3 separate regions of the Homo sapiens genome follow, and regions 1 and 2 are each linked to region 3. Evidence: promoter capture Hi-C in 16 types of primary human blood cells and fetal thymus (Javierre and others, 2016). All regions are on one chromosome and are shown on one strand. Each heading gives the region's core, a stretch centred on a gene start or on the middle of the fragment in contact. The rest is flanking DNA. Distances are from core to core; before and after follow the strand shown.

What was found. Contacts are between HindIII fragments. The CHiCAGO score rates a contact against its expected background, and 5 or more counts as called.
Region 1: a contact is called between a fragment that was not itself captured here and the fragment with the promoter of C1orf53 in region 3, in 16 of 17 cell types (megakaryocytes, M1 macrophages, M2 macrophages and 13 more). The highest score is 19.3, in megakaryocytes.
Region 2: a fragment that was not itself captured here is called in contact with the fragment with the promoter of C1orf53 in region 3 in 2 of 17 cell types (M1 macrophages and M2 macrophages); the score reaches 6.7 in M1 macrophages.

The regions. Positions count from the first base shown.
Region 1 is chr1:197,618,557-197,621,858 of GRCh38, reverse strand. The region is part of intron 10 of DENND1B (DENN domain containing 1B); the gene reads left to right. Among named protein-coding and RNA genes, the nearest start is that of DENND1B, 160 kb to the left of the region's middle. The HindIII fragment of the contact is 2,428 bases long and covers 287-2,714 here.
Region 2 is chr1:197,638,486-197,642,209 of GRCh38, reverse strand. The region is part of intron 10 of DENND1B (DENN domain containing 1B); the gene reads left to right. Among named protein-coding and RNA genes, the nearest start is that of DENND1B, 140 kb to the left of the region's middle. The HindIII fragment of the contact is 2,339 bases long and covers 165-2,503 here.
Region 3 is chr1:197,900,644-197,903,949 of GRCh38, reverse strand. It overlaps C1orf53 (chromosome 1 open reading frame 53), which reads right to left and starts at 1,320. Exons shown (of 3, transcript NM_001024594.3): 1 at 1,037-1,320. The coding sequence starts at 1,300. RefSeq lists silencers at 866-1,115, 1,286-1,435. The HindIII fragment of the contact is 7,446 bases long and covers 1-3,306 here.

The sequences.
Region 1 (3,302 bases), core at 251-2,750, 280 kb after region 3:
TTTCCATAAACCTTTATTTGGTAAATTCATTTTTATCTGAAAATTATAACAGTGTATTATTCAGTTTCAGGGTATAATGCCAGAGATATGTTTGAACTGAAACATGGAAATTCTTCCCTTTACCCTTTTCTCTGCTTTCGTGAGGAACAATTGTGGTATTAAAGAAGCAACTGACGATATTAGAAAAGCAATGTGGAGTCTTGGCCCTGTCACTAATCAGACATATGATACTTGGGTAATTCTAGCCCAAAGAAAGACTATATGATATTTCATTTTTCTTTAAGCTTAAAGATTCAATATATCATAAATAATGTTAAATTAATAAGATTCTTCTTACTTGGCTTATTAAATTGTTCTCATTTCTTTGTAGTACTTTATATTGCAAACCAAACTTCTAAAATATGTAGTTTATTTTCCTTTAATTTGTGTATTCTCAAAATGTTCCAGGTAAATAGTTTATTATGATAGCACTCTCTTCAGAGGTATGTAAAAATGTCATCCAGAATAATATTTAGAGTCTTTGCCATGTCCTAGAAGGCTCTATTTTCCTTTAATTTGTATATTTTTCTTTAATTTGTATATTCTCAAATGTTCCAGGTAAATAGTTTATTATGATAGCACTCTCTTCAGAGGTATGTAAAAATGTCATCGAGAATAATATTTAGAGTCTTTGCCGTGTCCTAGAAGGCTCTCCATCATTGATTCTGCTTCTCTATCTGACCTCATCTCCTGCCATTCTCCCACTTCCTCCAGTCTGATCTCACTGACTTCCCCATTGCTCTGTGAAGATGCCAAGCATGTTCTCACCTGGGACTTCTGAATGCCTCGTTTAATTTACCTGGAATGCTCTTCTTCCCAAATCCACGAGTTTACTCTCTCCCTTCAGTTAGGTTTCAGTTCATATGTCACCACGTTAGAGTTCTTCTGTAATCCTCCTATCTAAAATAGCTCCCCACCCCCATCACTCCCTACTTTAGGTTTCTTTATAGATCTAATCTCTGACAATATTTATTTTACTTGTTTATTGTTTGCTTTCTCCACTAACACATAAGCTCCATAGAAACGGGGACTTTGTTCTGTTTAGTACTGTGTCCCTGTTGCCTCATAGGGATTTCGATTGCATATAGCAGGCACTCAAAATTTTTGTTGAATTAAGCAAAAAAATTATTATAATATTTTCAGTTGCATAATTACCTTATGGACTTTAGAGCACCTACTTTATTAAAGCACTTTAAAGCACTTAAACTTTTAGATATATTTTGAAAGTGGATCTGAATTATAGTCCAGTCATAGTATTCCGTTAGCCACCAGGGTAGAAGAAATCTCAATACATAAGAATATAAAAAAGATAGAATTCATCTGATCTAAAAATAAAGAATGTTTGATCTATGAGAGAAAATACTTACAGATCATCTAGCATAGAGTTCTTATTTTAAAGATCAGAAAACTGAGACATGGTTATATTTGTAGATGTGCCAGAGATCACATGGCTTGTTGGTGGCAGAGCCCTAATTTTGTGTCTGTAATATACATGTTATGATTTTATGCAATTTACATATGAATGTGTTACATTTTCTAGTAAATTTGTTTTATTTTATTTACTTGCAACTTTGCTATCATCTGTAAAAGAATATGCCATAATAGTATTTTCTCATTTTTTTTTAAGTTTCACAGCTCTTGCATGCTACTAGGTGAATATGGAGGATTATCTTTGGGATGCTTCCGTCTTCTTTGGAAATCTCCATTTAGGTGTCTCATGGTTAACAGAATAAATATTTGCCAAAGCAGATTCCTTATAATTCTACTTAAACCTGACACTTTTGCTATATTACCTTTAATAATTCATTCTGGTTGCTTAGTTCCAGAACTGTGGTTGGGAAGGAGTTGTCATATATTTTTTCCTCTCCTTGTCACCTATACCCCACATCCAGAAAGTTGCCAAGTCCTGTAGACTCGGTTCTCTTCTGGTAGATCTTGATTAGCAGGCATAACCCTCTACCAGATGCTGGCCATTGCAGAAATTTTGTGACTCTGCATATAATTACAGAAACCATCCTCTAAGAAATCAGTCAAATTCATCAGATAATGTTGAATTTTGTTAGCGAATAACTAATAAAACTTCATTTAAGGATGACCAGTAAGGAGGCAGGGAAAGTATTTACATGGCATTTAGTAGAGTGCTTTGGACTCTGGGTATGCCCAGTGAAATAAATTGCCCAGTGAAATAAAGTGAGGTATTAAATATAATACCTCACATTAAGAACGTGTTTTTCCTCTTGCTACAGTTTTTATTTGCTCAGTAACAAAAAAAGAACACTCTCTCTTTTTTGTTGTTTTTAAGGCTTTAAATGAGCTGTTTAAAAAGTCATCTGTGTGCAGATTGAGAAATTGAATAATTAGCTGCCTTTCAACGCTTCATAAGCTCTTTTAGCCCATCAGGTTAAAAAGGGGGTGGAAAGAGTTAATACAGTCTTAAAGAGGCCTAATTTACAACTAAGGAGTACCTGAGAGCTCTTGGAGAATTTGACACAATGAGTTAGATCAACCCCATTTTCATTTCCCTCTAGCTGCAGTTTGTAACATAAATAAATCCATGGTCTATAATTGTTAAATGGAAGTATTTGAATGCCTCCTAGTGGCATATTGTAGGCTCTAATTAAGGAATTTAAAAAGTAATACTTATTGAAGGAATACTATCATAACCTATTAAAGCTTGTAAGTACAAGGTAGTAAAATCCTTTAATGATAACATCCTAAGTGAAATCAAAATACATTATTTGCCATACAAAACTGATTAAAAACATGACTGGAAAAAATATAATACATATGGCAAAGATGCATATACTTTGAATAAAAATTTTTGGTTTTGGTTCAAATCGAGTTATTTTAATTTACTTTATGTAATGGATCTATTTTGCACTTAAACATAGACAAATGTGGCTAATAATAGGATTTGGATAGCTTTGTGTACATTCATTTTTTTAAATTAATTGTGCTTATCACTTAGTTTCTTTAAATATCTTTGTATAATAATAGAGAAAACGGTTTATAGAAAGTCTGGTTCATTTTCAGATTTTTTTTTAATTCTGATCTTCAAGTTGAATAAAATAATTTAATCGGTAACCTTGAAATACAGACTATAGCAAAACTTTAAAATGATTAAGAATGCTGATTTAATTATTGCTTTATGCATAAAAATGACTTTACATCTACAGAAATATAATTTAAAATGGAAAGAAAGTCACATTAAAAGAATTCTGATGAGGGTCAGAAGATGGGAGAAAAAAGTGATATCCTTTTGT
Region 2 (3,724 bases), core at 85-2,584, 260 kb after region 3:
TAGCATTTTTTATAAATCACAGGTTTTATGACATTCACTAAAATGTTCTTTTGGAAGGTCTTTATTAATATGGTAAAGGCAGGGAGAGAAAGATTTTTCTTGGGTCATAGAAAAATATTCAGAAGTATTTTGCTAGATTTTATAATTTTTTTCTCATTTAAGCTTCAAAAATTTAATATTTTCAACTTAAATTTTTAAATACAAATTTAAATATAGTTTTAGATAATCTATGATGTATTTATTTAGCAAAAACTATTATTCAATATTTTATGAATTTTCTTCCTCACAAATTTGATTAATTGATAAATAAAACCATATTTTTAATGTTTTCTTCTCCTATAGTAGAAATAAAAACCTTAATCTGTATTTTAGCATTTAAAGTAGAAGGAGTTTCAGGATTTCTGTAGGATATCTGTTTAACATTTAACAGTGAGAAAGGTATTTTCAGTGAGATTAAATGACCACTTCAAGGCCAAACAGCTAGTTAGAGACAGATAATGTGAAATTGAGTCTTTTGATTCTAATTTTTGGGTTATTTCCATTACTCTACAATTGAAAAAAATACATACAATTGTACATATAATTTGTATGAATTTATAATTCACGAAAATCTCAAAAATACGATTTTGAGATTTTGAATTGTAATTTGATATGCTCACTCCTAAAAGTTGAAAATGCACTTTACATATTGAAAAATATATGCATTTAAAAGAGTAAGGGTGGATAAATGATGCAGTAATATCAGAGAATAAGTGCTAGTCAATGACACAAGTAATTTTTTTCTTACACATCTTAGAGATGTCAAGAAATTCAGTTTGACTCATTTGATATTTTAATTTGCCTATCTGCTATTTTTTAACTTACTATTGAAGTGAAACATTCTTCTTCTTTCTCCCCAGCTCCTCCTCCTCATTTTTTAAACATGATTTTTTTTTAAGATTAAAAAGGATATTTTTAAATGGATATTGTCCTCAAAATTAAAAAGATTGTATAATAGGCTTTGGAACTAAATTTTATCAGGATTAATTCATGTAACAAATGTTTATTAGGCACATACTATGTGCCAGGCACTTTCTAGACATTAACCATATTCGACTGGCATGAAACAGTTTGTAAACAAGTGAGCAAACAAATAGCAATTATTTATTAGCTAGGGTTACATAATGGATAAAGTGAGTGGGTTTACAGGGTAGACAGTGATGGACAGGTTTCCATTTTATGTAAGGAAGGCCTCTCCAATGAGGTAGTATTTTGTTTGTTTGTTTTTTTGAGACAGGGTCTTGCTATGTTGCCCAGGCTGGTCTCAAACTCCTGGGCTCAATGGATCCTCCTGCCTTGGGTTTCCAAGTAGCTGGGACTATAGGCACACGCCGCTGTGCCCAACTCAGTGAGGTAGTATTTGAGCAGAGATCCAAAGAAAGTGAGGGAATAAGCTATGTGAGTGAAGCATAAGCTACTGTATTTGTGTATTAGAAATAAATCTGAGTATATGTTTTTGAAAAATATTGGTGTTTTATTTAATTTATATCCACCTCTTAATGACCAAGTAATCTGTTTGACTCAGTTTCTTTAAGTGTAGAGTAGGAGCAATAGTAGCCTTAATCTCATAGGGTTGATGTAAAGATTAAGGAAATACATATATATAAAGTGCTTAGAATGATATCTGCATAGAATATATGTTTAGTAATTATGAGCTATAATTTTATAATAGTTTATATTTAATTTTTTTTTTTTTTTGAGACAGAGTCTCACTTTGTTGCCCAGGCTAGAGTGCAGTGGTACAATCTTGGCTCACTCTAACCTCTGCCTTCCAGGTTCAAGATATTCTCCTACCTCAGCCTCCCAAGTAGCTAGGAGTACAGGCGCCTGCCACCACAACCAGCTAATTTTTGTATTTTTAGTAGAGACGGGGTTTCACTATGTTGGTCAGGCTGGTCTCGAACTCCTAACCTCAAGCAATCCACCCGTCTTGTCCTCCCAAAGTGCTGGGATTACAGGCGTGAGCCACCGCACCCGGCCTCTACATTTAATTTTATAATAGTCTACATCTGCAGTTAGAGTAAAAATTAACATTACTATCTTTTAACTTAGTATTTGGCTTTAAAAACAAATTGTTATCATAAAGGCTTAGTATTTTGGGGGAGTTGTTTTCTATGTTTGATGTCAATTTATTATCAACTGTTTATGACAATTCATGAAAACTTGATGGTGATGTCACCTCTAAGTTACCAGCTCTGTTTTGGTTCACTCTCTGGGACCGTTGGGCTGATAAAAGAAACATAATTCAAGTTCTCTTTCATGATCTTAGTCTTCTTTTATGGAGGAAGCTGCTTTACTTGAATCTGTCTTGAATAATTCTTTTATATATACAGTATATAAAATATATCTGCTATAAATTCCATGCATAGTGGCATTTAAGGTCAAGGACTCATTTCTTAACATAAATTAAAAGTAATTTATGTAAATTAAAAGTAAAATCAATGAATTTACTTGTTTTTAAGCTTTTTATACTCATATTTTTATATATCACGGAGACTATAATGTGTTTAATGTTCGAAATTAACGTTTTATCCATTTTTAATTTTTTAAGTATACAGCCCAACTCTTAATTTTTAGAGGAATATATGTAAAGGTGGCCTAACATTCATAATTCTATTGTAGTTTTAGAAATTTTGTCTCAGTTATTTACTTTTTGACAATCATGATTTTTCATAGTTATAAGAGAATGATAATTATAAACCTTACAGCTTGCTGTAGGTTTTAGTGGTGACACTCTCATTAGAGAATCAGCTAGCTTGAGGTTCCTTTTCTTTAGGTGCTGTTTGTGGTTAAAAATGATAATTTCTTGCCGGATGCAGTGGCTCACGCCTGTAATCCCAGCACTTTGGGAGGCCGAGGTGAGCAGATCACCTGAGGTCAGGAGTTCGAGACCAGCCTGGCCAACATAGCGAAACCCCATCTCTACTAAAAATACAAAAATTAGCCAGGCATGGTACCACGCACCTGTAGTCCCAGCTACTCGGGAGGCTGAGGCAAGAGAATCACTTGAACCCGGGAGACGGAGGTTGCAGTGAACCGAGATCACGCCATTGCACTCCAGCCTGGGTGACAGAGTGAGACTATGTCAAAAAAAAAAAAAATTAACCTTTAAAAGATGAAAAGTTTAAAATTAAAAAAATTAAGATATGTAAGCACAGATATCAAGAATATTGTTATGTTTTCAACATTCTAATAGGTTTTCTCCCTATATTTTAAAGTGTGGTATTGTGTTAGTACCTATTATTATATTTTTGCATGTTTGAGTTTAATGAATTGAGATATAATCAGTTTTTTTTTATTCTGTTGATTCATACATTATTCTGTTGATTTATACATTGTCAAGTACACATGGAACGGTTTCTGGTAATCCTGAACAAGAACATTGATTTTATCCATGCTGTAGGTAGGCCATAGATGTTTAAGCCCCAAGCGAATCTTGGTAGACTAGCAGAACATCATATTAGATTCTCGTGTATTCAAAGCAGAGGCATAAATCATGATATTACAAGGGGGTATCAGTTGACTTATTGCTGTTTTGTGACCATAGGTAGGTTGGATTGCTGTTTAAAGCCATGTCAGTGGTTCTCAAATCAGTCAGGCATGAAGCCTTGTCATATGCCTCTATAATTGTACCTCACCAGACTTTCTCTAACTATTCAGCTGGGGCTGTGCATTTTGTCTCAAA
Region 3 (3,306 bases), core at 71-2,570:
CTTTAATATCCACCATATCTATATTGCGAAGTATGAGAACAAATTATATACATTATTTTTAAAAGGAGAGCATAAACAAGAACAATCAAAAGCTGCCAGTCACTTCCTAATGAGTCTTTATTCAGTTTCAGCACTTGAATGGGTCAGACCGACAGTGGATTCTCAGGGCCTACTAACTGTCATTATTTAAATAAGTCAATTTTAGGCAACCTCCGGGATTTTCTTCTCTACCCCTTTGGCTCAAGTCATACCATATAATATTAGTCCCATCAAGTACTGGAGGCACACACACATAGCTTATTAAATGGGTTCATTTCATACTGCTTTTCTATCTTTATTATAGTCAGTTTCTCTTTTTTTCTCACTGTTTCTTTTGTAAAGGTAACCATGCTGCCTTTAAACTCACGCAGACTGTGTTAGAAGGCGTAAAGGGAGAGAAGTTTAGATACTGGTACTAACAGACAATTGTCAAATCCGCAAAACAGGAGAAAACAGCTGAGTGTCTACAAATGCCAGATTGTAGTTCCCTCTGCTCCGTTAAGAGTTAAGAGAAAGGACAAGAAGGCAATGGAAAAATTAAAATAAATGTGTCAATGTCTTTTTTTCTCACTCTAAGAATCACTGGATTGCTAAGTGTTCAACTGACAATGCAGAAAAACACACAACACATTTTTGTTGTGACTTCTCAGTCCCTCCACCTTCTCCATCAATTCCTTAACACCCCCTTCCGCAACACACACACACATACACCACAAAAGAGTGGTAGTGGGTCCCACACTGCGACCGGAGTTTAGCTCGGACGCTGATCGGAAAACAAATCACACTCATACTCAAGACAGACACAGGTTTCCCGCGAAAATGTCGGGGCTGGAAGTTCGTGTGCGTGCGCGAATGTCGCCCGAGGCAGGACCGCACCGGTATCCAGCAACCTTTGCCTCTGCCGGGCGGCCTCCGGGTCCGGAGAGGCCCGGGATGCGCAGGCGCGCCGAGCCCGGGGCGGCCGCGGCGGGGCGGGGCGGGCAGGAGGGAGTCTCACCGCGCAGGCGGCAGCGTGCAGCTCCGCGATCTGTCGCTCCGCCGCGGTTAACTCTTCGCTCACCGAAGGCCTCGCCGCTCTCTCCGGCCTACCGGGCGTGCTGGGCGCGGAGCCGCCGCAGTTTCCCTCGTTAGCAGGGCAGAGGGTTAAGCTGAGCTGCTGTCGGAACCCAGCTCTTACCCAGAGAGGTGCTGGCGGCGGGGCGGCGGAAGGTTGCCTGCAGAGCGCGGCACCCGTCCGTGCCCAGATCTGCCTGGCCGCCATGCCGCCGCCGGCCTTGGGAGGCGGAGCACCCGGCGCTGGGGCCCGGAGGGGCGACCAACGCGGGCCTGGGCGCGGCGAGCCGGTCTTGGGCAGCTCGTGGCCATCGCTGCGTGGGGTCGGTTCGCGCTGCCGTGGCAGCAGGTGGAGGCGGACGGACTGAGCCTTCTGCCTTCACCAGCGGGCCCGCTGCGGAAATAAAATGGGCTTTTAAGGCAGCTAACGAGGCTCTGATGAGCTGCCTGGACGGGGAAGAGCCTGGTGTTTCCACATCTTTGGACTTAAATTCTAAGCTCTTCCTTCTTCCCCCGCGCCCACCCAGCTGAAAGGTGGACATTTTTTGTTATGTCAGACTGGACTTGGGATCATTCAGTATAATCTCCACAACTGTTAAGATCCCAGAAAGTGATCAAAAGACCCGAGGTTTGTGAATAACCACCTTGGGCCTATCCAGAAAAGGCTGAGTGTTTCCAGGTAGTATGTGATAGGAATAAAGGTGGAAGCGGAGCCTTCTTTGCTTGGTTCTTTGGCCCACCCTAGAATAAGGGCCAAAAGTAAAATCGCACACTGAATAAGAAAAGGTGTTGTGTTCATGTTGCTGAATATTTACAAAATCCAACCTAAAACTATTATCTCCTTTCTGATGGATGAAAGTGATCTTGATACCGTCACATAATTGTATTTGAGAAAATTACGGCAAGCCCGGGAAGTAATTTCAGGTGTTAGGATTAAATTAACACCACCCCATCTTCCTACCCCCCGTCTGGGTTTCAAGAAAAGGAGGGCTGAAGAGTACCAATTTTGTTAGTGCTCTTCAATACTGGGAGGGCAGGAATTGATCTTTGAGGACAAAAGTAGATTATTCAGTTGTACAGGAGAAAGGCGACTAAGCCACTATAGACCATCACTACGTGTTTTTTGGTTTCTGTGTTTACCATGCAACCCTGTAGTCATATTTTCATTTTCTTAAATCTTAGTAGGAGGTGATTGAAACAACCCTATTGGTTCATTAAAAATCTCAGTGAATTAATAAATTGGTATTATATTTTGCAAATTGATTTTCTTTTTGTTGGAATAAAAAATTAGGATCTGGAGACTGTTAAGTAATCTGAGGAGAGTTTAAAATCTGGAAAGCGAAGGAGGGACCCTAGAGAAAGCTGTGGAAGAGTGGGACCAAACATGAGATCACCAAAAATGAACAACTGTGATGTTATTCACATTCACCATAAGTCAGGTCCCCGCACCAACAAAAACCTGAGATTGATTTACTGCATTGTCTTTAAAATTAAGGATCAGGATCCACTAATAGGCCATGACATCGATTCAAAGGGTAGAGACAGCATTTTACAGGAATGAAATAGACTAGACCAGATTTAAATAGAAAATAAATGGAACTATCTTATATAGATACATATCTTATATAGATACATATGTACAAGAGTACATATTGTTACATGAAACTTCTTTTGGTGAAGATGAGAGGGTGGAAGTGGACTGTACAGGGCTTGAACAACAGAGATCTTGTAGGTAACAGAATAATTCTGTATCTTGACTATGATGATTACAAAAATTTACATGTGATAAGATGCCATGGAGCTATACATACATTGTTTTAATGTCAAATCCCTGGTTTTCATATTGTAAGCATGTAAGGTGTAAGCATTGGGGGAACCTGGGTGAAGTAAACACAGTACCATATCTGCAACTGCATGTGAACCTGTAATTATTTCAAAATTTAAAAACAGTATTTTTTTTTTTGAGACAGAGTCTCACTCTGTTGCCAAGGCTAGAGTGCAGTGGTGCAGTCATAGCTCACTGCAATCTCTAACTCCTGATTTCACGTCATCCTCCTAGCTCAGCCTCCTGAGTAGCTGGAACTACAGGTGTGTGCCAACATGCTTGGCTAACTTTTTATTTGTAGACATGCGGTCTCCCAATGTTGCACAGGCTGCTCTTGAATTCGTAGGTTCAAGGGATCCTCCCGCCTCGGCGTCCCAAAGTGCTGTGAT